Linked DNA regions of Homo sapiens: regions 1, 2, 3 and 4 are each linked to region 5. Evidence: promoter capture Hi-C in 16 types of primary human blood cells and fetal thymus (Javierre and others, 2016). All regions are on one chromosome and are shown on one strand. Each heading gives the region's core, a stretch centred on a gene start or on the middle of the fragment in contact. The rest is flanking DNA. Distances are from core to core; before and after follow the strand shown. Region 1 holds the start of NCR3LG1 (natural killer cell cytotoxicity receptor 3 ligand 1). Region 2 has its middle 4.1 kb from the start of NUCB2. Region 3 overlaps PIK3C2A (phosphatidylinositol-4-phosphate 3-kinase catalytic subunit type 2 alpha). Region 4 holds the start of RPS13 (ribosomal protein S13). Region 5 holds the start of TSG101 (tumor susceptibility 101).

What was found. The method cuts DNA at HindIII sites, captures the fragments that hold promoters and counts their contacts. A CHiCAGO score of 5 or more calls a contact.
Region 1: the fragment with the promoter of NCR3LG1 here is called in contact with the fragment with the promoter of TSG101 in region 5 in 1 of 17 cell types (fetal thymus); the score reaches 7.4 in fetal thymus.
Region 2: a contact is called between a fragment that was not itself captured here and the fragment with the promoter of TSG101 in region 5, in 1 of 17 cell types (fetal thymus). The highest score is 5.9, in fetal thymus.
Region 3: a fragment that was not itself captured here is called in contact with the fragment with the promoter of TSG101 in region 5 in 1 of 17 cell types (fetal thymus); the score reaches 5.0 in fetal thymus.
Region 4: the fragment with the promoter of RPS13 here is called in contact with the fragment with the promoter of TSG101 in region 5 in 6 of 17 cell types (fetal thymus, naive CD8 T cells, total B cells and 3 more); the score reaches 13.6 in fetal thymus.

Annotation. Positions count from the first base shown.
Region 1 is chr11:17,350,157-17,355,739 of GRCh38, forward strand. NCR3LG1 (natural killer cell cytotoxicity receptor 3 ligand 1) reads left to right here and starts at 1,644. Exons shown (of 5, transcript NM_001202439.3): 1 at 1,644-1,883. The coding sequence starts at 1,814. It overlaps LOC105376576 (a long non-coding RNA gene), which reads right to left and starts at 1,710. Exons shown (of 3, transcript XR_931094.3): 1 at 1,623-1,710; 2 at 881-1,018; 3 at 657-755. RefSeq lists a silencer at 1,466-1,585 and enhancers at 1,582-2,183, 2,184-2,785, 3,010-3,059. The HindIII fragment of the contact is 2,891 bases long and covers 821-3,711 here.
Region 2 is chr11:17,270,123-17,275,220 of GRCh38, forward strand. No RefSeq gene overlaps it. Among named protein-coding and RNA genes, the nearest start is that of NUCB2, 4.1 kb to the right of the region's middle. The HindIII fragment of the contact is 4,765 bases long and covers 657-5,098 here.
Region 3 is chr11:17,200,458-17,206,058 of GRCh38, forward strand. All of the region lies in intron 1 of PIK3C2A (phosphatidylinositol-4-phosphate 3-kinase catalytic subunit type 2 alpha), which reads right to left. Among named protein-coding and RNA genes, the nearest start is that of PIK3C2A, 4.7 kb to the right of the region's middle. RefSeq lists an enhancer at 1,453-1,954. The HindIII fragment of the contact is 6,380 bases long and covers 1,110-5,601 here.
Region 4 is chr11:17,076,171-17,082,003 of GRCh38, forward strand. RPS13 (ribosomal protein S13) reads right to left here and starts at 1,497. Exons shown (of 6, transcript NM_001017.3): 1 at 1,449-1,497; 2 at 1,259-1,307; 3 at 998-1,076. The coding sequence starts at 1,471. RefSeq lists an enhancer at 1,531-1,730. The HindIII fragment of the contact is 8,959 bases long and covers 1-2,298 here.
Region 5 is chr11:18,524,604-18,529,993 of GRCh38, forward strand. It overlaps TSG101 (tumor susceptibility 101), which reads right to left and starts at 2,339. Exons shown (of 10, transcript NM_006292.4): 1 at 2,172-2,339. The coding sequence starts at 2,213. It overlaps UEVLD (UEV and lactate/malate dehyrogenase domains), which reads right to left. Exons shown (of 12, transcript NM_001040697.4): 12 at 5,006-5,390. RefSeq lists an enhancer at 2,499-2,608. The HindIII fragment of the contact is 722 bases long and covers 2,083-2,804 here.

The DNA of each region.
Region 1 (5,583 bases), core at 394-2,893, 1.2 Mb before region 5:
CAGGAGTTCAAGACCAGCCTGGCCAACATGGTGAAACTCTGTCTCTACTAAAAATACAAAAATTAGCTGGGTGTGGTGGCAGGCACCTGCAATCCCAGCTACTTGGGAGGATGAAGCTGAGGCACAATAATCTCTTGAACCTGGGAGGCAGAGGTTGCAGTGAGCTGAGATCACGCCACTGCACTCCAGCCTGGGCAACAGAACGAGACTCTGTCTCACCAAAAAAAAAAAAAAAAAAAAAAAAAAAAAAAAGATGTTCAAATAGACATGATATTGGTAAAAACGAAAACACAGGTAATGACTTTTCATTCTAATGAAATATAAATAGAGAAACCTGCCGGTTTTACCCTTTAGAGTAAAAAGGGTACAAAAAAATTACCAAAACAGTAAAAATTACCAAAAGAGTAATTTGATAATTTCTACAGGGTGATGTGTATGTGTCACAACTTTGTGAATCACTATTCTGGGCATGTATAAGAAGTCGTCATATACCTCCATTGGGAATGTTATTTAATGATGTCACTAATACCAGACAAGGATGTCTCCTCAGGTAAGGCTCCTTGGAGGAGGCAGAGGTTGAGAAGAGGTGTAATTTAGGTTTTAAAAATTCAATAGCTGGACTTAACCTTGCATATCTCTACCTGTTATAACGGTGGTCCGGAAGGCTGCGATCTGAAGGCCCCTCAGCTAGTTGCTGCCACTGTGGGCACTCTGCGCATCTTTCACTTCTGAGCTCTTTCTGTATGCACTCTGTTCTGCAGATAAGTGAGAATGTGACTATTTGCTTAGTCAGTGACAGTGTCTCTAACCCTGGAAAGGAAGCTTTTACTCTCTCAGTTTTAGAGACATGTGAACAGGCTGGGGATATGAGGTCACTTACCCACTGTCTTATAATCAGCAGATGGCATGGTTGGCATTGGAGTTTAGGTCTGTCTGTGCTTTTCTGTACATTACATCCTTTTTAATGATGCGAAGGAAAAATGCAGTAGGGTCAATGAGACAAATGGAATGCAGGTTGCTGGGGAAAGAATGCAGGTTCTGCGTTATAAATGCACACACATTTACTGTGCCACTTGGGTTCTGAACTTTGCGGTTAAATTGATTTAAAAACTGGTGTAGAGGTGGTAAAACTTAATCACCGAATGAGAATATTTGGGTTTGCTTCAGGAGGTCGCAAGCCACTTCTTGATTAGTAGAAATGGGAAATTAAGGGCCACCTTCAGGCGTTTAACTGAATTGTCCTGGGGATTTAATTTGCCTTTCGACTTAATGCTAAATTTTTGTTGTTTTTGGTTTTTAAAGTAATGTAAGTTTATCGCGCCAACGGTAAGATGTCGCTCTGGACGCGTGCACCTGCTCTCGCAATCACCGACTGCGGTCAGCATCTTCCTTAGAGCAGCGCCCCGGGCCACTTGGATCCCGGTCTCAATTTACTAAGCGAACCCAGAGGATGCCCCGAGTCCTGGACCGCAGAGCCGCTCGCGAGAGGCACCGGGGCTGTAACCGCGCAACCTCGTGCCGCGGGCGGAGGCGAGGGAGGATTCCCCGGCCGGTGCCCGCCCCCGGGCTAAAGTGCGGCGCGGGTGGGGCTGGTCACGCGCCTGGCTTCCTGCAGTGCGAACCTGGGAAATCCAGGCGACTTCGCAGTTGCCGAAGGGATCTGAAGAAGTGGGATGTGCAAAAGCGCCGGCTGGAAATCCCGGCTGTGTCTCCGTCAACTCTTTACGCAACAGAGGTCTCCCCCTGCCCTTGGTTTCTACCGGGCCGCCTGCTCCCACTCGGCGAAAAAAATTACACAACAGCAGCCGCGGCGATGACGTGGAGGGCTGCCGCCTCCACGTGCGCGGCGCTCCTGATTCTGCTGTGGGCGCTGACGACCGAAGGTAGGGGGCGGCTGGGGTGGGCTGGGGCGGGGGCTCCTGGCGCCAGAGGGTCCTCGCGGGTCGGCTCCCTAGCATCCCGCCAGGGGACCTCAACTTCCTGGGGGCTGAGAGCTCTATTTTCTTTTCTATTTCTTCTCCTTTTTTTTTTTTTTTTTTTTTGAGACGGAGTCTCGCTCTGTCTCCCAGGCTGGAGTGAAGTGGCGCGATCTCGGCTCACTGCAAGCTCCGCCTCCCAGGTTCACGCCATTCTCCTGCCTCAGACTCCCGAGTAGCTGGGACCACAGGCGCCCGCCACCATGCCCGGCTAATTTTTTGTACTTTTAGTAGAGACGGGGTTTCACAGTGTTAGCCAAGATGGTCTCCTTGACCTAGTGATCCAGCCGCCTCGGCCTCCCAAAGTGCGGGGATTACAGGCGTGAGCCCCCGCGCCCGGCCTGGGGGCTCTATTTTCAAGCGTCCCTCCTTTGTGAGAAGCGGAGTCCCCGATGCAACAGGTTTACATTGAAGGCCTGCCCTGTGCAGGGTCGACACCTGTGAGAGCGGAAACGGTGCTTCCTTGGATGTCGCGCGTTTGGTGCCTCGGTATTTGGCGCCTCTCTCGCATCATCCGAGGGGCCGGAGGAGAGAAGAAAATCAGGGAATCGGTAAATTGGAAAAATCATTCATCCGCATATCAGTGGGTCCTCCTGGCTTTGCTAAGTTAGGTCTTTACTGAGAGAGGGAGGGGAGTGTTTTGATCTTGTGGTGACCTTCAAACGTTCTCTTGCTTTTTTGGGAACTCGTATGGGCGTGTTCTGCGTTAACTTAAACAGGAGACTAAAAGGCTGAAACGCGTATGTAGAGATATTTAAACTCATTTCTAACTAGAAGAATGGCAATTAAACAACAAGATGCTGCTTGACCCTTACTAGGCTGGCCAAAATACGCTCCTGGGTGCCGGGTGGTGGAGGTGGAATGTAGGAATCCCGGAGGCGCGCTCTGGGCGCCCCGAGTCACTGCAGGTGGAGGAGAGCCGCGTGTGGACCTCACCGTGGAGACCTTGGCGGCAGCTTCACACCACGCCCTTGCTGCTTGCCGAGCAGCGTGAACGGATGTTGAAGGCGTAGAGCCAAGTAAACAGTGGACATACAATGCAATACCATTTCCACAGTTTGAGAAACAGAAGATACAGCCTTAAAGAGAACAAAAATTACATGTTAAACACCTTAGAATGGCTGCCCGATGGGAGAGGGAAGTGGAAATAAAAACGAGTGAATAGTATTTCTATACATTTGCAATAAGCAATGTGAAAATAAGACAGTTCCGAGTGAAGTGTGGGCGGTGAAGTGGAAAGCCAAAATTGCGCTTGTCTCCGCGCTGCGGACTTGAAACGCCTGTCACTGCGGTCTGGAAACGCCTGTCGCTGCGGTCTGGAAACGCCTCCGCGCTCTATCAGTCTGGGTCTCCTCGAGCTCGAAGTGGCGCCAGTGGGCTGCCGCCGCGCCCACCCGGTCCCATGCCCGTCCCGCGCCCCCTCCCGGGCCCGGCGCCCCCTCCTCAGGGGCCTTGGGTCCCCGCCACTTTCGTCCGGTCTCGGTCCCCGCGGATGCTGGTGGTGGTGGAGAAGGGCCGCGAGTTCTCAGGGAAGCGGAGAGGGAGGAACGCCGTTTGGCTGTGCGGCGGCGCCCAGTGACGGCAGCAGCAGCAGCAGCTCCTGGAGGAAGCTAGTTCCGGCTCGTCCAGCCACGAGGAGCGCGGCGGCGGCTGCATGAGGGTCGGACCCCAGAACCAGGCGTTGGTGCTGGACTTTGGCACCGGAAGAGACTGTGAAATGGAAAACCGTTTCGGAAGCTTTCGCCTAACAAATCATTTCCGCCTACAAGAAATTCCTACACCTTAGGATGGAGCATCTGTTTGCCTGGCTGCTATTCTGCGTGGAAGCAAATTTAAAGTGGTACAAGAAAAAAAAAATCCAGTCATACAAAGGAATTCGTCAGATTTTAATGCAAGAGATTCTAGCCCGTCTTTGTATGAGAATGTCTTTAAAGGTTGTTGATATAGAAAATGTTTTAAAGAACGTTAGGTTTTATTTCAGAAATGAAGTTGAAAAGAGCAATTTGTAAAGCTGTAGTTAACAGTCCTCCCTAGTTGGAGAGCTCTAGAACTGGAGGTTCTCTATGTAGGTTATACCACTAGTTGATTTGAAAAGATAAATGCATAAATGCTTTTCCTTGGAAACAAGACTGCAGAAAATTCCAAGGATCTAGTCCTTGAAAAAGGCGAATGCTGTTAAGCTGTTAAGGTACTACACTCTGTACCTTTAAATGAAAATACATGGAGGTCCTGGGTGAGCGCTTGGGCGCTCTGAAAATAGACGAGGTTTCCCAAATTTGCCTTCTAAATTTTGATTTGTTGATTTAAATCTTCTAAATTTATGTAGTCTGGCACTCAGGTTTGTATTCCTTTTAAGCACATGTTAGTGTTTTTGATATTTTCCCTTCTCCCTCCGACCCCCCAATTCTTCTTCTTTTTTTTTTTTTTTTTTTTTTTTTTTTGGTAGTCACTTTTCGTTTTTAAGAGTGACAATACAACTAGGTGGCCTGGCTGTTTCATATCCTTGGTTTCTCCATTTCTTGGTTGGCCACCAGGGGGAAGCATACTGTTTTTTTGGTTACAGTTGACCCTATCTTCATTTTGTAGGTCAAGTCTGTTTTTGCTTTGATACATAGAACAGAAAGCTTGTCACCGCGTTTCCCTAATGTATTATTTTAAAAAATAGACTTGCACAAATCTTTGAGTAAGTTGGCAGGTTTTTGGATACATTTTTGTTAACATTAATTTTGAAAACTTTATTTAGATATGTTGGATGTGACTAATGAAAGGACATGTTTGATGGCAACAAGGGGAATTCGGTTTCTGACATTTATCTAAATATAGATGTCTAGCTCTGCATTGTTAGTAATGAGTCTGACTTCTTTGGAGTTGTACTCTTCTTTGAAATAGCAAATGTAATATTTTGAACTGTCCTTGCACTTTTTGTTGGAATAGGTATAAGCGTAAACTTGCTAGCAACCTACTGTTCTAAAATGGAAAACATCTAGCCAGTCGCAGTGGCTCATACCTGTAATCCCAATACTTGAGGAGGCAATGAGAGGATTGCTTGAGCCCAGGAGTTAGAGACCAGTCTGGGCAACTTAGTAAGACTCCATCTCTACAAAAAATGAAAAAATTAGCTGAGCATGGTGGCATGTGCCTGTAGTCCCAACTACTTGGGAGGCTGAGACAGGAGGATCACTTGAGCCCAGGAGGTGGAGGCTGCAGTGAGCAGTGATAGCACCACTGCACTCCAGCTTGGGTGACACAGCGAGACCCTGTCTCTAAATAAATAAATAGGAAAACATCAAAAAAAAAAGAGAAAATTCTCTTTACAATAGCATCAAAAGATAAAATACTTATGAGTAAATTTAACGAAAGAAACAGAAAATATATACTCTGGAAACTGTAAAATATTGCTGAAAGAAATTTAAAATCTAAATAAATGAAATGGAAAAATGTCCTGTCTTAGTCTTGCCAGGCTACCATAACAGATATATACTGTGTGGCTTAAACAGAAATTTATTTCTCATGATTCTGGAGGCTGGGAAGTCCAAGAGGAAAGTGTGGATGATCTGGTTTCTGGTGAGAGCCTCATTTCTAGTTTATAGAAGGATACCTTCTTGCT
Region 2 (5,098 bases), core at 1,789-4,288, 1.3 Mb before region 5:
ACTCTTTCCAGACTTGAACAACTACTCTCTAGAAAATGCACCAGGCCTAGAGTTAGGGAACTAACTCAAAACTGGGCACATGTAATAAGCAGTAGAGCCAGGGTTGGGGTCCAATTCTGACGCTAAAGCTTGTGTATTTTCCCTTGTCCAAGGTAGTGATTATGTTCTTAATTAGTATTATAGAACAGTTGGAATACACAAGGTAGTGACTATGGTTTCTGTTGTTGTTGTTGTTGTTGTTGCTTTTTGTTTTTTTTTGAGACAGAATCTCACTCTGTTGTCCAGGCTGGAGTGCAATGGCATGATCTTGGCTCACTGCAACCTCCGTGTCCTGGGTTCAAGCGATTCTCCTGCCTTAGCCTCCTAAGTAGCTGGGGTTACAGACATGCACCACCATGTCCCACTAATTTTTTTGTATTTTTAGTAGAATGGGGTTTCACCATGTTGGTCAGGCTGCTTTCAGACTCCTGACCTCAAGTGATCCACCTGCCTAGGCCTCCCAAAGTGCTGGGATTATAGGTGTGAGCCACCGCGCCTGGCCCATGTTCTTTAGACATCTTTCCCACCAGGAGATTCTCTGTCAGTGCTAAACCTTCAAGTTTTAGTTTTACTTACTGTTATTATCTCACCACATAGGTTCATTTTATTGAGCTGAAAGCTTACAAAAAGTCCACTGGTCCCTGCCCTGCCCGTGTTACACTCATTCCTTCCCATGCACACTCTTGAGGATCCACAAGTGCTTCCACATAACTGGTTTCCCCCAACAAAGCACAAAGGGTGGTGCTTCAAAAGCATCCGTTGTTCCTAGCAGCAAGACTTTCAATGCTGGGGTTTTATTTATTCTTTTTCTTTTCTTTCTTTCTTTTTTTTCTTTTTTTTTTTTTTCTGAGACAGAGTCTCACTCTGTTGCCCAGGCTGGAGTGTGCAGTGGCATGATCTCGGCTCACTGCAACCTCAGCCTCCCGGGTTCAAACAATTCTCCTGCCTCAGCCTACCAAGTAGCTGAGACTACAGGCGTGCACTACCACACCCAGCTAATTTTTTTGTATTTGAAGTAGAGACGGGGTTTCACCATGTTGGCCAGGCTGGTCTTGAACTCCTGACCTCAGGTGATCTGCCCGCCTTGGCCTCCCAAAGTGCTGGGATTACAGGCATGAGTCACTGTGCCTGGCCACTTTTTATCTTTGAAAGTGTTTTATTTCAATAGTTTTTGGGGTACAGGTAGGTTTTGGTTACATGGATAAGTTCTTCAGTGGTCATTTCTGAGATTTTAGTGCACCCGGTTCCCCAGCAGTATACACTGTACCCAATATGTAGTCTTTTATTCCTCACCCTTCTCCCAACCTTACCTTCTGAGTCCCCAAAGTCTATTATATAATTCTACCTTTGTGTCCTCACAGCTTAGCTCCCACTTATAAGTGAGAACATATGATAATTGGTTTTCCATTCCTGAGTTACTTTACTTGGAATAATGGCCTCCAGCTCCATCCAAGTTGGTGCAAAATACATTATTTTGTTCCTTTTTATGAATCAGTAGTGTTCCATAGTGTATATATAACACATTTTCTTTGTGTACTTGTTGGTTGCTGGGCACTTAGGTTCGTTCCATGTCTTTGCACTTGAGAATTGTGCTGCTATAAACATGCATGTGCAAGTATCTTTTTCATATGATGACTTCTTTCCCTTTGGGTAGATACCCAATAGAGGGATTGCTGAATTGAATGGTAGTTCTACTTTCAGTTATTTAAGGAATCTCCATACTGTTTTCCATAGAGGTTGTACTAATTTACATTCCCAAGAGCAGTGTAAAAGTGTTCCCTTTTCACCACATCCATGCCAACATCTATTGTTTTTTGACTTTTTTTTTTTTTTTTTTTTGAGGCAGGATCTCACTCGGTCACCCAGGCTGGAGTGCAGTGGCGTGATCTCAGCTCACTGCAACCTCCGCCACTCGGGTTCAAGCAATTCTCCTACCACAACCTCCCCAGTAGCTGGGAGTACAGGCATCCACCACCACACCCGGCTAATTTTTGTACTTTTAGTAAAGATAGGGTTTCACCATGTTGGCCAGGCTGGTCTTGACCTCCTGGCCTCAAGTGATGACCAGCCTCAGCCTTCAAAGTGCTGGGATTACAGGTGTGAGCCATCGTGGCTGGCCATTTTTCTTTATTCTATTCCAGTGGTCTGTGTTCCTGTTTTTATGTCAGTGCCATGATGTTTTGGTAACTATAGCCTTTTTTTTTTTTTTTGAAACGAAGTCTCGCTCTTGTCCCCCAGGCTAGAGTGCAATGGCATGATCTCGACTCACTGCAACCTCCGCCTCCTGGGTTCAAGCAATTCTCCTGCCTTAGCCTCCTGAGTAGCTGGGATTACAGGCGCCTGCCACCACACCTGGCTAATTTTTGTATTTTTAGTAGAGACGGGGTTTCACCATGTTGGCCAGGCTGGTCTCGAACTCCTGACCTCAGGTGATCCACCCGCCTTGGCCTCCCAAAGTGCTGGGATTACAGGCGTGAGCCACCATGCCCGGCAGCAACTGTAGTCTTGTAGTATAGTTTGAAGTTGGGTAAGGTGATGCCTCCAGATTTGTTCTTTTTGCTTAGTCTTGCTTTGGCTATGCGGCTCTTTTCTTGTTCCATATGAATTTTAGGATTTTTTTCTCCAGTTCTGTGAAGAATGATGATTGTATTTTGATGGGAATTGTATGGAATCTGTAGATTGCTTTTGGCAGTGTTGTGGGATGTGTTTCCATTTGTTCCAGAAGGGAGTATAACTGCCTCTGCTGCACATGAGTTCACAAAGGGAGTGGGGAGTAGCAGGCAGCAGCAAGCCTCACCCAGCTCCCATGCAGTTGGCAAGGCTGGTCTTGCTCCATCAGTGCCCTGTTAGCAGCACTGAGTTTAGATCCAGGCAGTCTGTGCACACTGTGACCTGAAACCACAGCTTTCAGGTCATGCCCTTCCCTTTCTGCTGGTAAGCTGAACACCCAGCATGTATGCTTGTGTCTCCTGCACACTTCTCGCTTGCCCACTGGTTTCTGCTCAAGGGAGTTCATCCCCACTCCAGATTATATCATAAAATTCAGTTGGGAGCTTCTTTCACCTTGGGACCCCTCCCTCAGTTTGTTGGCTGGCTTCCCTGAGGGCCCCTGTAAGATACAGTCAGGAATGGCTTCCCTCCATTCACAATAGAGACTGGGAATGCCTACGAGGCACTTCCCACTACTGCTTCTACGTTTATTTATTTCACGCCACTCCCTAAATCCATTCCGGCTCTGGGGAGGGTTAAAGCCTTCTCCTGTGGACTAGAGGTTCAGATTCCCTGGTAGGAATGTGTGCTTGGAGGAAGACTCTCCCCCTCTCACACTCTGGGAATTGACAGTTTTTCACCTGTCTCACAGAGTACGCTGCAGCCTGCTGCATCTTTCAAAGGGTCTGTGGATTCTTTCCCAGCTAATTTATAAAAAGCTCTTTTTGTAGAGACAGGCGTAGGCCAGGTGCAGTAACTCATGCCTGTAATCCCAGCATTTTGGGAGGCTGAGGTGGGAGGATTGCTTGATGCCAGGAGTTCAAGACTAGCTGGGCAACATAGTGAGACCCTATCTCTAAAAGAAAAGCGGGGAAAAGAGGGTTTTAGTTGACTGAAACCAGGACAAACATAAAGAAGGTCTCCCATTCAATTTATCTGGTTCTAAAAGCAGCTTTTTCCAATTGTGCACACGAATGAACTGTTTTAGACAAGACAGGGTCTTGCTATACTGCCCAGGCTGAAACACAGTGGCTCTTCACAGGCGTGATCCCACTACTGATCAGGAAAGGAGTTTTTGACCTGCTCTGTTTCCAACCTGGACCAGTTCATGCCTCCTTAGGCAAGCTGGTGGTACTGAGACGGGAGGCAGAACTCAACTCTGGAGGCAGGGCTTGGTCACCAGACCAAATTGAGAACTAGCTGAAACAGGTTTGGAACAGAAGCACCTCCCCATAAGACACGCCCACCACTGTGCCATGTCAGTTTACCATTGCCATGACAACACCCTGAAGTTATGGCCCCTTTCTGTGGCAATGACCTGACAACTTGGAGGATGCCACCCTCATTCTAGAAATTTCTGCATAAACTGCCCATTAATTTGCATATACTTAAAAGTGGGTATAGGGCCAGACACAGTGGCTCATGCCTAGAATCCCAGCACTTTAGGAGGCCGAAGTGGGTGGACTGCTTGAGGTCAGGAGTTCGAGACCAGCCTGACCAACATGGTGAAACCCCGTCTCTACTAAAAATACAAAAATTAGCCGGAGTGGTGGCGGGTGCCTGTAATCCCATTTACTTAGGAGGCTGAAGCAGAAGAACCACTTGAACCCAGGAGGTGGAGACTGTAGTGAGCTGAGACTATACCACTGCACTCCAGCCTGGGTGACAAAGTGAGACTCTGTCTCAAAATAAATAAATAAAAATAAAAATAAAATAAAATCAGTATAAACAGGAATGCAGAACTGCCTCTGAGTTGCTGCTCTGGGCACACTGCCTACAGGGTAGCCCTGCTCTGCAAGGAGCAGTAGCTCTGCTGCTGCCGGGTACTGCGGCTTCAATAAAAGTTGCTGTTTAACACCACCAGCTCACGCTTGAATTCTTTACTGGGTGAAGCCAAGAATCCTCAATTTTGGCGCTTTCCTGTCCTGCATCAGTCTCCTGCTCCTAGGAGTTCACCCTTGTTTGTTTGTTCGTTTTGAGGCGGAGTTTCGCTCTTGTCGCCCAGGCTGGAGGGTCCTCTTCTCCTGAACCTCAAAAAGGAGCCTAACCTTGAGGTACTGATCTATGTATGTGGATGAGAAGTGTTAGTAAAGATAATTGAGGCCAGGTGTGGTGGTTCACGCTTCTAATCTTTGAGAAGCTGAGGAAGGCAGAGCGCTTGAGTCCAGGACTTCGAGACCAGCCTGGATAACATGGCAAAAATCCGTCTCTACAAAAAAATGCCAAAAAATTAGCCAGGCGTGGTGGTGTGTGCTTGTAGTCCCAGCTACTTGGGAGGCTGAGGTGGGAGGATTGCCTGAGCCTGCGAGGTTGAGGCTGCAGTGAGCTGAGATTGCGCCACTACACTTCA
Region 3 (5,601 bases), core at 3,050-5,549, 1.3 Mb before region 5:
CTCAAAAGTGTTATGCTAAATGAAAGAAGCCAGTCTCAAAAGGCTATATACACTGTGTGATGCCAATTTATATGGCATTTTGGGAAAGGCCAAACTATAGGGATAAAAAACAAATGAGCTGTTGCCAGGGAGTGAGGGGTGGGCTGAAGGGATTTACTTCAAAAGGGCATAATTATGGAAATTTTTGGAGTGATGGAAATATTCTATATCTTGTATCTTAATTGTGGTGGTGGCAGTTACACAACTGTCACTGTTTTTTGTAATTCATCTGTTTTAGCAGAACTATACAGAACTTTACACCTAAAACAGATGAATTTTACTAAGTGTAAATTATACCTTAATAAGTATGACTTTTCAAAAAGAATCCTTAACAATGGTAGTATCATGTCATACATTTCAATACACACAGAATTCTAGCCTGATAAATGTCATTATGAGATCTAGTCAGATGAAACTAGGCGATTCAAGCCGGGCACGGTGGCTCATGCCTGTAATCCCAGCACTTTAGGAGGCAGATGTGGGCGGATCACTTCAGGTCAGGAGTTCAAGACCAGCCTGGCCAACATGGTGAAATCCCGTCTCTACTAAAAACCCAAAAATTAGCCAGATGTGGTGGCAGACGCCTGTAATCCCAGCTACTCAGGAAGCTGAGACAGGAAAATCGCTTGAACCTGTGAGGCGGAGGTTGCAGTGAGCCAAGATCGTGCCACTGCACTCCAGCCTGGGTTACAGAGCGATATTCTATCTAAAAAATAAAAATAAAAAATAAGCCTTGAAAACCCCTCCCTAGGCCTGGTGTGGTGGCTCATGCCTGTCATCCCAGCACTTCAGGAGGCCGAGGCAGGCAGATCATGAGGTCAAAAGATTGAGACCATCCTGGCCAACATGGTGAAACCCCATCTCTACTAAAAATACAAAAATTAGCCGGGCGTGGTGACGTGTGCCTGTAATCCCAGCTACTTGAGAAGCTGAGGCAGGAGAATCACTTGAGCCTGGGAGGCAGAGGTTGCAGTGAGCCAAGATCGCACCACTGCACTACAGCCTGGTGAAAGAACGTGACTCCGTCTCAAAAAAAAAAAAAAAAAAGAAAAAAGAAAAAAAAAAAGAAAAGCTTTCCCTAAACCTACGTTTTATGTTCCCTTAGCTAAGTTTTCCCTTAAGTTGTTCTCTGTGCATTGAAATAACACTATCCTTAACACCTCATCATCTTCTTCTTCCTATAGTAAGGATTTACAATCTAAACTCTTTACTCAAAAATCTTGTCTAATTAACTCTTATCTATTTTCCATTTGACTATATTATCCCTTACATCTTTTCTTTCCCGTAACAAATTTTTTTAAATAACTGAAGTACTTTTTGCTACATGGATTGTAGTTAGTTGGTCTCTCCTAGTTGGAATATAAACTTCCCAAAGGCAGGAAGTAACTATTTCTTTATACACTCCAAAAATCTGGTTTGTACTATGTATCTAAACACTCAAATGCCATATGAAGAGATTCAATGAAAAGAATACTGGGGCCCGGGGCGGTGGCCCACACCTGTAATCCCAGCACTTTGGGAGGCAGAGGCGGGCAGATCGCCTTAGGTCAGGAGTTCAAGACCAGCCTGGCCAAAATGGTGAAACCCCATCTCTACCAAAAATACAAAAATTATCCGGGCATGGTGGCATGCACCTGTAATCCCAGCTACTCGGGAGGCTGAGGCAAGAGAATCACTTGAACCCAGGAGGCGGAGGTTGCAGTGAGCTGAGATTGCGCCATTGTACTCCAGCCTGGGCGACAAGAGTGAGACTTCATCTCCAGAAAAAAAAAAAAAAAAGAAAGAAGGAAGAAAAGAAAAGAATACTGGGGTGGACGTGGTGGCTTATGCCTGTAATCTCAGCGCTTTAGGAGGCCAAGGTGGGCCCAGGGGTTCAAGACCAGCCTGGACAATGTGGCAAAACCCCTCCTCTACAAAAAACACAAAAATTAGCCAGGCGTGATGGCACGTGCTTGTAGTCCCAGCTACTTGGGTGGCTAAGGTGGGAGAATCACCCAAGTGTGGGAGGCAGAGGTTGCAGTAGGCTGAGATGGAGCCACTGCACTCCAGCCTGAGCGACACAGAGAGAACCTCCCTCAAAAAAAAAAAAGAACAGAACACTGGGCCTAGCATTGTTAAGACCTGAATTCAAGCAATGCTTCTAATTTATTATGCTAAGTAAGTCACAACATCTTTGGGCCTCAGCAAAATCAGAATACTTGCTGTATTTACCTCACAGGTAATAAGGTCTTGGAGGGAAAACAGTGTTAGCTAAGCTATAACCATCAGTCAATCCAAGTGTAAAGATGTATTATTGTCAGTCATAGCTATCTTGTCTAAAATTAGCCACTAGTGTTTTTTAACCAAGCTCAGTGCACAGCAAATTAAGTGCACCAACATTGCACATCAGTCATATCAATAATGTAACTGTTATACTGTAATACTAACAGAAAGCCTTATGTTTAACAGTAAGCATGTTAATTATACACTATCTTAATGCAGTCTCAAGGTTAAAAGATAAATACTTGTTGCTAAGCCAACAATAACTGCCTTCAAATCTATTAAAAGAGGATTTATAAATCCCATTTGTTTTTGTACCCAAATAGCTAAGTTTAAAATTTTAAGAAATCCAAGAATTAGTTTAAAATTGTATAAATTCTCCTTTTAACTTTCTAAAATGTCCATATGCACTCTCATTGTGTTTTAAATCCATTACATTAGAAAAACAGACTGCAGGCCGAGTGCAGTGGCTCATGCCTGTAATCCCAGCAGTTTGGGAGGCCAAGATGGGAGGATCGCTTGAGGCCAGGAGTTCAAGACCAGCCTGGTCAACATAGTGAGACACCATCTCTATTAGAAAAAAAAAAGAAGAAAGAAAAAAAGAAATAACATACTGTAGAAAAAAAGGATACAAAGTATACATAAATGAACAAAATAAAGATAACAAAAATATGACTCCACTACAGATGCAGAGAAAACAAAGACATTTCTTCTCATCCCAACCATAATCCTATGAACAACCTGAAAGATACTTACAGCAATATTTGCAAGTATGACCATAATTCTCATCAAAAGAACATCATATATGAGTACCATCAAAATGATTACAAATTATAAATTACCAGTGATAATTTTCTCATTGGAGTCCCTTTTCCTTTTTCAAGCAGAGAACCAAGACAGAATAGCCTCTAGATCTTTTTTGTGGTGGTGGTTGTTTTTTGAGACAGTGTCTCACTCTGTTACCCAAGCTGGAGTGCAGTGGTGATCATAGCTCACTGCAGCCTCAAACTCCTAGGCTCAAGAGATCCTCCTGCTGGCAGGGTACAGTGGCTCACGCCTGTAATCCCAGCACTTTGGGAGGCCGAGGCGGGCAGATCACAAGGTCAGGAGATTGAGACCATCCTGGCTAACACCGTGAAACCCTGTCTCTACTAAAATAATATAAAAAATTAGCTGGGCGTGGTGGCGGGCGCCTGTAGTCCCAGCTACTCGGGAGGCTGAGGCAGGAGACTGGTGTGAACCTGGGAGGCGGAGCTTGCAGTGAGCGGAGATCACGCCACTGCACTCCAGCCTTGGCGACAGAGCGAGACTCCGTCTCAAAGAAAAAAAAAAAAAAGAGAGATCCTCCTGCCTCGATCCTCCAAAGCACTGGACTATGGGCATGCATTAATGCACCCAGCCTCTAGATCTATACTGTCCAATATGGCAGTTACTAGTTACATGGAGCTATTAAGTGCCTGAAATGTGGCTGTTCCAAATTGAGATGTACCAAGTGTAACATACACCAGATTTAAAAGATTTAGGGGAAAAAAATAATGTAAAATCTCCTACCTATGTGACTCCCATTTTTGGCTCACATATTTCTCATGTACAGCACTGCTTTATATATGTAGTCGAATCCTGAATAAGGAAAATGGATACCAGAAGTATTAAGCAGTTTGCTCAATATCTCACCGCTTGATAGAAGCAGAGCAGGGCCTAGAACCTGATCACGTTTATCCATCCTGCCCTTATGAATAGAAGGAATTAATCATTTAAGACTCAACTTGAGCATCCTCTTCCTCCTCAAACCCCCTCATTCCTTTTCCATCTCCCAGCCCAGGTGACCATATCCTATTTAGCCTGCCCTTATAATTATACTGTTATAAAATGTACGTTGTCTTCCAAATGGATGAGAAATTCTTGAGAGCAAGCACTGTCTCATTCATTTTTCTTATCCCTGGGAACCTTTGAAGTACCAGGCACTCTTTCAGGCCCTCCGGCACTCTCAGAGCTTTGAGAGGGTTAATTTTTAGCCCTATGCAGGTACAACTACTAAAATGAAATCACCTACAATGTGATGCACCACCAGAAACATCCACATTTATCATTTGCCTGTCTTAAATTATTTTTGGAATATGCTAAATTAATACAATGCATAGGCCAGGCGCAGTGGCTCACACCTGTAATCCCAGTACTTTGGGAGGGCGAGGCGGGCGGATCACTTGAGGTCAGGAGTTCAAGACCAGCTTGACCAACATGGTGAAACCCCGTCTCTACCAAAATACAAAACTTAGGTGGGTGTGGTGGTGTGCACCTGTAATCCCAGCTACTTGGGAGGCTGAGGCAGGAGGATTGCTTGAACCCAGAAGGCAAAAGTTTCAGTGAGCTGAGATCACGCCACTGCACTCCAGCCTGGGTGACGGAGTGAGACTGTCTCAAAAAAGAAAAAAAGAGCCGGGCAGGGTAGCTCAAGCCTGTAATCCCAGCACTTTGGGAGGCCGAGGTGGGCAGATCACAAGGCCAAGAGCTCAAGACCATCCTGGCCAACCAACATGGTGAAACCCCGTCTCTACTAAAAATACAAAAATTAGCTGGGCATAGCGGCACACGCCTGTAGTCCCAGCTCCTCGGGAGGCTGAGGCAGGAGAGTCACTTGAACCCGGCAGGTGGAGGTTGCAGTGAGCCAAGATCGTGCCACTGCACTCCAGCCTCGTCAACAGAGTGAGACTCCATCTCAAAAAAAAAAAAAAAAAAAAAAAAAAGAATAATTCATGTTATCAAAGAAAAACAAGTTACAAAAAATGCTTTGCACTACTGCTGCTCTGATGCTCTATAAGAACTCTGAGTTCTCAGGAAATTCAACACTCTTTAGGTATAAGTTCACTTATTGAATGTGCTTACTTAAATGCAAAACTTTGTGCTACAGAAAGAGTCCTGGACATGGGAATTAATGCAAGCAATCTTCAATTAATTGAAAATTTTAGAACTATTAATTGCAGAAGAAACAAACTTAGTATACAGTTATTCATTACAAAAAGTTAGTTTCTAAAATTCCTCAATGCAAACATGCCAGCTTTTGTATTCTATAAAACAGAAAAAACTGCCAGGTGCAGTGGCTCAAGTCTTTAATCCCAGCACTTTGGGAGGCCAAGACGGGCAGATCACTTGAGGTCAGGAGTTCGAGACTAGCCTGGTCAACATAGTGTAAACCAGTCTCTATTGAAAAAACACAAAAATGAGCCATGTGTGGTGGCGCGTGCCTGTAATTCCAGCTACTCAGGAGGCTGAGGCAGGAGAATCACTTGAACCCTGGAGGTGGAG
Region 4 (5,833 bases), core at 247-2,746, 1.4 Mb before region 5:
GAGGTCAGGAGTCTGAGACCAGCCTGGCCAACATGGTGAAACCTCGTCTCTACTAAAAATACAAAAATTAGCCGGGCGTGGTGGTGCGGCCTGTAGTCTCAGCTACTCCAGAGGCAGAGGCAGGAGAATTGCTTGCTTGAACCCAGGAGGCGGAGGTTGCAGTGAGCCGAGATCATACCACTGCACTCCAGCCTGGGTGACAAAGTGAGAATCGGTCTCAAACAAAAACACACAAATTAGCTGGGCCTGCTGGCGGGCGCCTGTAATCCCACCTATTCGGGAGGCTGAGGCAGGAGAATCGCTTGAATCCAGGAGGTGGAGGTTGCAGTGAGCTGAGATCGCGCCACTGCACTCCAGACTGGGCGACAAGAGCAAGACTGTCTCAAAAAAAAAAAAAAAAAGAGGTGGGGTCTCTCTGTCACCCAGGAGTGCAGTGGCTTCATCATAGCTCACTGCAGCCTGGGACTTCTAGGCTCTGGTGATCCTCTCACCTCTGCATCCCAAGTATCTGGGACTACAGGCACATTGCGGCTGGCTTTTTTGGGCGGGGGAGTCGGAGAGTAGTATGTTCTCAGGCCCCAGAACCATGTTCAGCACATAGAAGGTAAACATTTGCTGAATGAAGCCACTTGCACGAAGTCACACGCAGCTGAGATTCAAACCACACCTAACTGTGAGGAACTGTGTCAGGCACTCTGCTTAGCCAATTCCAACTCCTCCACTTGACAGCTGTGTGATTTGGGGCTGGTTAGTATCCAGCGGCAGTGTGCCTCTGCTTCCTCAACTGTAAACTGGGGTGAAAGCCATGAAGATTTATTTCAAAGTATTGTGGTCAGAATTAAACGAAATCAGTACATGTGAAGTGCTTACAATGATGCCTCTAGCACGGTGGCGAGACCAGAGTTTTGGCTATTTTTAAAATAACTTTACCACCTACTAGATCCTACAAGTCACACGAGGACAGGCGAAATAGGCTATGTTAGACACAAACACTCACCGATCTGTGAAGGAGTAAGGCCCTTCTTGGCCAGTTTGTAAATCTGCTCCTTCACGTCGTCAGATGTCAACTTCAACCACTGTTATGGAATAGAAAGCAGCCTTAGGATGAGAACCCAGGAATGGCGCCGCAGAACAGCGGTCTCTCCTTCCGCAAAACCGCGCTCCTCATACACGCAAGTTCCTCACCCTGGCGTCGCTTCACCCGAGACAAATGCCAACCCCCTCCCCGGATTCTCCCCGGTCCCAGCGCGCTACTTACAGTGGGGACGCTGCGTCGATAGGGTAAAGCCGACTGGGACAGGCCCTTCCTGGGGAGAGAAGCAGTCTCGAGGTGAGGTGGCGGCTAGTGCCAGAGCAGCCCAGAACATCATCCCCTCGGCCCGCTGCCCACACTCCCTGTCTTCCTCCCACCCCCCGCCCAGCAATCCGGCTTGATGCCCCGAGCTCACCCGGGAGCATGCATGCGACCCATGATGGCGGCGATCAGGCAACGAAAGGAGAGCGAGAGTGGAAACGCCGCAGGAAGCCACCCAACACGCAGGAAGTGACCTCACACGTCCCCGCTTCCTCTCACGCAGGAGGCGGAGCTACGCTGCGCAGCCACCGCCCGTCTGTGTGACTACATCTCCCGAAATGCATTTCAGCGTCGCAAGAGATCGTCAATCCAGCCTCATCCCGGCATGCATCGGTCTTTGGTCAGCCTTGTTGCCAGAGCGGGAATTTGAGGCTGACGCCAGCTTGCGTCGAAATTCCCTGTGGACGCCGAGATCACAAAGATTCGAATGCTGCGCTGGGGGTGGGTATGGAGCAGGTAGGGCTGGAAGAAGCAGCCATACACAGGTGTTTGCTCATTCACCAGTGCCTGGCTTTGTCCTGGCACTAGATCCCTCAGAGTCGGCCCTGCGCCTAATAAATTAACAGATACAATAGCATGTGATGAGGACCACACGGGAAGCCATGGCAGCGGCTACCGCCCAGCCAGCGCTTCCATTTCTCATTTCTAAATCCTACCCTAATCTGTCAGGGGAGAGTCGCTGACGGTGAAGAACCGGTCTAAGGAGTTGAACCAGGTCCCCACGGATGCCTGCCGCCCTCCGCACTCGAATTCCCCTGCGCAGGGCTCTGGGGCGCTGGGCTCGCCGGGGAGAAGGGTTGGGCAGAGGCTTACGGAGCTATGTTCCCAAGTGAGAGAGTTGGCGGGCAGGGAAGAGCCTTGGGAGCAAGACTGCAAAGGCCAAGAGGATGAGGGATAAAATGAAGCATTTGAATTTCATGGGAAAAGGGAACCGTCAAGGAAGAAGCTTTTTTTTTTTTTTGAGACGGAGTTTCGCTCTTGATTCGCAGGCTGGAGTGCAATGGCGCGATCTCGGCTTGCCGCACCCTCCGCCTCCCGGCTTCAAGCGATTCTCCTGCCTCAGCCTCCTGAATAGCTGGGATCACAGGCATGCGCCACCACTTCCAGCTAATTTTGTATTTTTAGTAGAGACGGGTTTTTCCATGTTGGTCAGGCTGGTCTTAAATTCCCGACCTCAGGTGATCCGCCCGCCTCGGCCTCCCAAAGTGCTGGGATTACAGGCGTGAGCCACCGCGCCTGGCCGGAAGAAGCTCTTTTAAGACAGACCTAGCCTGGGCAACATGGCGAAACCCCCTCTCTATAAATACAAAGAATTAGCCGGGCGTGCTCGCTCGTGCCTTTGGTTCCAGCTACGAAGGAGGCTGAGGTGGAGAATCTCTGGAGCCGGGAAGGACATTGCGGTGAGCCGAGATAGCACCACTGCGCGCCAGCCTGGGCAACAGAGCAAGACTCTGTCTTAAAAAAAAAAAAAAAAAAGGAAAGAAAGAAAAAGACTGACTCAGTGCCGGTACACAACAATGCGTTGAAAGAATGGGCAAATGAAGCAGCTTCTTAAAATTTTAAAAAGTAAGCATAGCTCTAGGAAGGAGGGAGGTCAGTGAAATCAAACTCCTGTCGACAAGCTTAAAGTAACTGGCAAGACGCTGGGAAACTAGATACTGAAACATCCGCTCTTAACTTTTAACCTGTCACTATTTGAAATAAAGTTATCAGGGATAGCCGGGCGCGGTGGCTCACGCCTGTAATCCCAGCACTTTGGGAGGCTGAGGCGGGCGGATCACGAGATCAAGAGATCGAGACCATCCTGGCTAACACGGTGAAACCCCGTCTCTACTAAAAATACAAAAAAATTAGACGGGCGTGGTGGCGGGCGCCTGTAGTCCCAGCTACTCAGGAGGCTGAGGCAGGAGAATGGCGTGAACCCGGGAGGCGGAGCTTGCAGTAAGCCACGATCGCACCACTGCACTCCAGCCTAGGTGGCAGAGCGAGACTCCGTCTCAAAAAAAAAGTATCAGGGATAAAGAGAGAACCCTTTATAACAACAAACGGGTCAGTTCTCCAAGAAAACAACACCCCTCCCCCCCAAAAAAGCCATAATCTGTCACTATTTGATTAATAACTTTTCCCAAAGCATTAGGAATTTTAGTCAAATCGGGTACCCTATTTGGGTAATGTTTTTTTCTAGCAAAGTTTATCATTAGCCAATTTTACATTTTTAGTTCAGATATGGAATAGGTATCTCAAATTTAATATGACTCCAATTCCCAAACCATGCCCCTTTGTTTCAGTTAAACACGATCCTGTTTGCTCAAACTTAATACAAACCTAGGCATCTCCGTTTTTCTCTGATTTCCCTCTGTCATCCCAGCTCTACCACAAGAATGTATCATGAATATGTTCCCTTTGCCCCATTTCCACCTTCAGTCCCAGCCACCATCACCTCCTATCTGGGCAACTCTGTAGTATCCACACCGTCTGGTCACGTCCCCACTCTAAACACAACCCACTCTCCACCTAGCAGTCAGAGTGATCCATTAAATACATAAAGCAGATTAATTCATTGCTCCCCTGTGTAAATCCCTCCCATACTTTCTCAATGCACCTAAGATCCAATCCCTGGACCCACGTCTTGCCACTATCCCCCGATTCTAAACGCTCTAACCGCACTTACTCCTTTCTGACTCTACAAGGTAGCAATGTGTTCCTTTCCTGCTTAGAGCCCTTCCTCTTGCTGTTGGCACTGCCTGAAGTGCTTGCTCTTCCTCAAGACCTTTTCAGGTCTCACTTTCACATCCTGGCCTCCATGTCATCTCAGGGTGGCTTTCCCTAAATAGGATCATCTAAAGTAGTCCTTCTTCCCAACACAATATCCTATTGATTACTTTCAAAGCACCCAAATCTCTAACATCCTTTCTAGTTGCTTGTTTGGTTGCCTGTCCACCTCCAATAAAAATTAGCTCTGAGAGTACAACGTTTATTGCTTTATCTCCAACACCCACAAGAGTGCCTGGCGGGAAGTTAGGTACTCAGTAATTATTTGAAAGAATGAACCTAAATAATGTCATTTTTCCCCCTTTGTAGATGTCTAGATTGTAGACTTTATTTCAGGAAGATGATGGGAATAGTAGATTTAGCAATCTAGTCCCAGATTACAGGATGTCTGTGTGTAATTTGGGTTGTCAGTTAGTTATACATGAAGATTTTTGTTTTTGTTTTTTGAGAGAGTCTCGTTCTGTCACCCAGGCTGGAGTGCAGTGGCCTGATCTTGGCTCACTGCAACCTGCACCTCCCGAGTTCAAGAGATTCTCCTGCCTCAGCCTCCCGAGTAGCTGGGACTACTGGCACCCGCCACCACGCCCGGCCAATTTTTGTATTTTAGTAGAGATGGGGGTTTCACCATGTTGGCCAGGCTGGTCTCAAACTCCTGATCTCAAGTGATCCGCCCGCCTCAGCCTCCCAAAGTGCTGGGATTACAGGTGTGAGCCACTGCACCCGGCCTGCCATAGTTATTTTATCTGGTAATGTTTGTATATTCAGTAATGATGATAAAATACGATGTAGTGCTGAGTTTTAATCAAACGGTGTTTACCTTCTATTAAGCCATGCTCCATTGCCTTTATATGTGGCATGCTTTTGTGAGAGCTGCTTTTGCAAATTGGAAACTTCTAATTTTTTAGACAAAGGGAAAGTTATAATTTTAGTATCTAGAAAATAGTTACTGTTAATGCATTTATTAAGGTCAGAAGTTCAGTGATCAAATAGCTTTACAAACTGAATTTTTAATATTTTTTTACTGAGGTAAATTCATACCATGAAATTCACTTTTTTACCATTTTGAAGTATACAGTTACTTCAGTAACTTTTATTGCACTCACAATGTTGTGCAGTCATTACCACTAATTCCTGATATGTTATTACCCCCAAAAGAAACCCGGTAACTATTAAGCTGTTGGCTCTCCAGTCTCCTCTCCCCACTCTAATCTGCTGTCTCATGGACTTGCCTATTCTGGACATTTCATATAAATAGAATCATAAGGCCAGGCACGGTGGCTCATGCCTGTAATCCCAGCATTTTGGGAGGCCGAGGCGGGTGGATCACGAGGTCAGAAGTTCAAGACCAGCCTGGCCAACATGGTGAAACCTCGTCTCTACTAAAAATACAAAAATTAGCCAGGTATGGTGGCAGGCACCTGTAATCCCAGCTACTCCGGAGGCTGAGGCAGAGAATCGCTTGAACCCAGGAGGTGGAGGTTGCAGTGAGCCGAGATGGTGCCACTGCACTCCAGCCTAGGCATGAGCCACCGCGTCCGGCCTTATGATTCTATTTATATGAAATGTCCAGAGATGGAGTTTTGTCATGTTTGCCAGGCTGGTCTCAAACTCCTGACCTCAGGTGATCCATCTGCCTCGGCCTCCCAAAGTGCTGGGATTACAGGTGTAAGCCACCGTGCCCAACTTTTTTTTAAAGGGACGGGGTTC
Region 5 (5,390 bases), core at 1,089-3,588:
GCTCAGAATCGTCATAATCACATACAGGAGTCTCAATTTTCCAGATATTGAGTCAAGGACCAAAAGGCAGGTAGGATGCCCTCTCCCACCTCTTCCCTACCTCTGTTTTTGTTTCTAAAGTAATCACAGGTTGGGTGGAGGGGAAGGCAGGTAGAGGTATAAAATATCTTCTGAACATGCCTTGCCTTTGTCTTTGATGGCAGGTTTCTCTAGGGAAGCTTAGGAAACTTAATTAGGGTATAAAAAATAAGCTAATATTTGAATATTCTTGCTCTTTATATGAATATACATACATTAAGGAATAAATCTTTTTTTTTTTTTTTTTGAGATGGAGTCTTGCTCAGCCACCCAGGCTGGAGTGCAGTGGCCTGATCTCGACTCACTGCAACCACCGTCTCCCAGGTTCAAGCGATTCTCCCATCTCAGCCTCCCGAGTAGGCTGGGATTACAGGCACCCGCCATCATGCCCGGCTAATTTTTGTATTTTAGGAGACGGGGTTTCACCATGTTGATCAGGCTGGTCTTGAACTCGTGACCTCAGGTGATCCACCCGCCTTGGCCTCCCAAAGTGCTAGGATTACAGGCGTAAGCCACTGCGCCCAGCCCAAGGACTAAATCTTAATGACTATGCTATCAATTTAAAGATCAAAAATGTCATGGAGGCCAGGTGTGGTGGCTCACGCCTGTATTCCCATCATTTTGGGAAGCCAAAGCGGTGGATCACTGAGGTCTGGAGTTTAAGACCAGCCTGGCCAACATGGTGAAATCCCGTCTCTACTAAAAATACAACAATCAGCTGTGTGAAGTGGTGGGCACCTGTAATCCCCAGCTACTTGGGAGGCTAAGGCAGGAGAATCGCTTGAACCTGGGAGGCGGAGATTGCAGTGAGCCAAGATCGTGCCACTGCACTCCAGCCTGGGTGACAGAGCAAGACTCTAAAAAAAAAAAAAAAAAAAAAAGAGTCATGGAACAGATACTCTTCAGTTACATACTATGTAAAACAATATACCGTTTTTTTCAAAAAGTGATATATAAAAGTTACAACATGGATCTTTACCTGGGTCACAATCTTCTATGGCTTCCCATATGTCTTCTATAACTAAGGATAACAAGTTTATCAAAACAAAACCAAGAAGCCTAAAATATACGATTACACAACCAATATATGCTTTATTTTGAAAGCTGTCATTTTCTCCTTAGAGATTATTTGGTCTTCAATCAAGAACTATGGGGGCGATTTAACTGGAAAAAGTCTGTTTTTAAAAAAGTTTTACACATAATAGTGTGTTTTATTAAAAATTGAAACCGCTTAAACCGCTGATTGCTACCATTCTTGCTTTGACAAAACTATCCCAAGCTAACACGTTGAACTGGTCAAGACTCAACTCTCAATCATTTTACATAGTTTTGGAAAATTACAACAAAACATAACAAAAGCCATTCCACTCTGGTGTGAGGTGCCACGTTTGAAGTAATTATATAAATAAATCATGGCTTTAAAATACAAAATGCTTAACTGCTTTTTTAAAAATTGAAAAAAAAAACACTAGTCTTGAGCCGTGAAGATCATAAATTAAGCTCAAAGCAAATAAATACGCGTTATAAGAAGCATACACTTAAAAGTAGTTACTCTTAGAAAATCCCTGAAATGGTAATGGTATGTATTTCACCTGGGGCAGTAAGGGACTGGTATTTTCGCTTCTTTTCTGGAGAATACAAAACTGAAAAGGCCACACTCTCTGCGGGTCGGCAAAAGAAAGGCTAAGACTGGAGGATCCCTAGATTGGGACAGGAGTAGAGGATTGCCTCAGATCTACAACTAAGTATGATCCCTTGTTTGTGTTTATAAAAACAAACGAAAAACTACACTGCCCCACAGACAGCTCCAAACTCAGTGGAAGAGAGGAGGGCGGGTGGGCGGCAGGTGTCAGGTAGCCTCCGCTCCACGCCTTTGTTGACTGTCGCCGTCCCCCACCCTCCCAGCTCCCGTACGGGGATTCCCGCACCAGGCGACAGGCGCCTCGGGGCGGGGTTCTGAGGAGGTCGCTAAGGACTGCACCGGGGCTTCCGGCCCGTCTGGGAAGCTTGCTTGGCTGGGCCGGGACGGACTCGACAGGGCGCGGAAGGGAGCGGTGGGCGCGCCCTGGGAGGCGAGCGCGTCGCAGCCTCACCTTGGACACCATTTTCTTGAGCTGGCTCTCCGACACCGCCATGACGGCCGCCTGGCGACTCCCTTCCCCGCAGGCAGAGGGTCAGCCGCTGCTGGGCTGCCCCAGACCGTCCCACACAATCGCACACCCCCAACCCGGCCTCAAACAACAGGAAGTCGGCACCACTACACCACTTCCGCTTCCACTACGTCACTTCCGGGCCGCCGTCCTGCGGGCAAGGGTGGACACCGTGTGGGATTGAGAGGGGCCTGGTGGGGTGGGTTCCAACCAACCCGCCCCTCGAGTGCCGGAATCAGCAGGACGAATCGGGTCCCAAAGATGTGGGCAAGACTGTTCCGAGGGTCGAAACTCTGGTTCAGGATAAGATTAGCAGGTATTTCACAGAGTCGACTTAAGGAAGCTAGTGCCGGAGAGGGAAGAAGTACGAAGGGCTTGCCAGTGAGCCTTAATGACTGATTGATCAAGTGGGAGGGCACTGCACTGGCGGTCAGAGAACTGTTCTGTCACTGACTTGCTCTTGTGATAATGGTAGGCTAGTGCATTTCTAGCTCAGGCGCAAATTTCTCCCGACTCTAAAGTCATACACTTGCCTTAGATGATGCCCAGTGGTCCTCTAATTAATGATTTTTTTTAAGCTTAAAGACCTTCATACTATACGTTGGCAAGGGTAAAGTGTAGAGCCTTTGTTTCACAAGAAGCCAGATAGTAATTTCTTCTCCAGGAAATCATTCCGTAAGTCAGAATTTCTCCTCTGTACCCACCCATAAATGATAATACAGGCCGTATTTTACCTGGTGCTGTATTTGTGTACCTGTCCGCTGTCAAAATCCAAGCCCTTGAAGGCAGGCTTCCTTCAGATCTTCATTGCCTTGCACAATGCAAGGGTAGGTACTTCCATCTTAATTGAATTTTTACTTCCCATAAAAATTCTTCATGGTGACTTACATTAGTCATCATTACACATCACCGTCAGTTTTGTAAGCACAGTGTCATTCAAGGTATTGTAAAATTTTGAGTTTGATGATGTGTGACAGTTTCAATTATTTTAGTACAGCCCTAATGAGAACAAGGCCGTAGTATTGATTCCCTTCAAAGTTGGCGTCTAAGTGAAGGTCACATTCACAAGGAGGGCCTAACTGAAAGCATGTGGAAGCATCATTATAAACTGTTGCTAACACGCACAAATAAAGGCTATTAATAGGTATTGTTTTTCTTTTTCTTTTTCTTTTTTTTTTTTTTTTGAGTCACTCTCACTCCATCGCCCAGGCTGGAGTGCAGTAGCACCATCTCGGCTCACTGCAACCTCCGCCTCTGTTTTTCAGCTCCTTAGTTAAGCATACAGCTCCAGTCAAACCAAACTAGAGGTCTGTCTGTCCTTCCATTTTACTTGCTGTTTTATGTCTTTTAAAAGCAAGAAGGTTTTCAAACTGTTCTTAAAGCCACGGCTTAACCAGGAGTCCCTTTAATTAGAGCAACTGTACCTTTGTGAGTTGGAGGAATGCCAGGTAATATATATTATTTATATATTTTATAAATGCAACATTTATAAATATTAAAATAAATTTTACATATATATATATATATATATATATATATATATATATTTTTTTTTTTTTTTTTTTTTTTTTTTTTTGAGACAGAGTTTTGCTCTTGCTTCCCAGGCTGGAGTGCGATAGTGTGATCTTGGCTCACTGCAACCTCTGCCTCCCGGGTTCAAGCGATTCTCCTGCCTAAGCCTCCCGAGTAGCTGGGATTACAGGTGCCCACCACCACACCCAGCTAATTTTTTGTATTTTTAGTAGAGACAGGATTTCACTATGTTGGCCAGGCTGGTCTGGAACTCTTGACCTCAGGTGATCCACCCGCCTCAGCCTGCCAGAATGTTGGGATTACAGGCGTAAGCCACTGCGCCCAGCCCATTTATATATTTTTGTTGCCCAGGTCATGGTGCAGTGATGTGAACATGGCCCACTGCAGCCTCGACCTCCCTGGCTCAAGTGATCCTCCTGCCTCAGCCTCCCATGTATATTGGGACCACATGCGTGTGCCACCATGCCCAGCTAATTTTTAATTTCTTTGTAAAGATGAGGTCTTACTTTGTTGCCCAGGCTGGCCTCAGAACTCCTGGGCTCAGGTGATCCTCCCACCTTAGCCTCCCAAAGTGCTGGGATTACAGGTGTGAGTCACTGTGCCCAGCAATATATTGTTTAAAAAAGCTTTCTTGCTGCATGTTTACTATCAGTCTTTTGCAATCTTTTAGGGTCAACACTATACCTCAATATAAAGTGTTAACTTCTTATCTATTTCATTGGAACCATGGAGGATTGAATGTGTGTGGGGAAAATGTCTTTGTGGTTTTAGAAATATGCAAAATCAGTTAATTTTTTAATGTGAAGGTAATAGTAGTTGAAATGCTTTTGAAAGTTGCTTGCCATTTCAACACTAAAGATGAGTTTTTTTCCACTCATTAGGCATTTTGATTTCTATCCTCACGTATATTAGTGGAGAATTTTAAATCCTCCGATTATCACAGATGAAAACACAAATAAGCTGATGGTGCACCTGCAGTCCCAGCTACTCCATTGGCTGAGGCAGGAGGATTACTTGAGCCCAAAAGTTTGAGTCCAGCCTGGGCAATATAGTGAGAACCTGGCTCAAAAACAAAAAGATTTAAAAAGTTTTCTTGCTAAAAATAATTTTTAAAAGTTTGAAAATGATAAAATCTAGTCTCTTCATTTTACACAAAATAACTAAATATCCTGGGTACTGTGTGAATTATATGAAAAAAATTCCTTAATCTGAATGTTTCACTTAATAAATGAAGCATCTCCTGGTGATTTTAAAATCAGTTTATTTTACTCATTATTCTTAATATTTAAGGAAAACAATGTAAAATGGGAAAAAATGTATCTTCTGCTACATCAAAAAAGCATTTTAATCCAAACCCCACTAAAAATTATAACAAGCTCTGCATGATTTCATAAAAATGAAAACATGAAAGTTAACAAGCATTGAAAATGCCAAATTATCACAAAATCATAGGGAGGTGGTGGTGGTGATATTGCTTCTTGACTTACACTGGGATTTACAACATGATTACTAATACACTTAACACTCAAGGAAATATCTGATACAGAGAATTACTTCTACATTGTGGCCTTCCAGAGGGCAAAGACTATTATTCATCTTCGAATAGTCAAATTCTAACACAGTATTTGG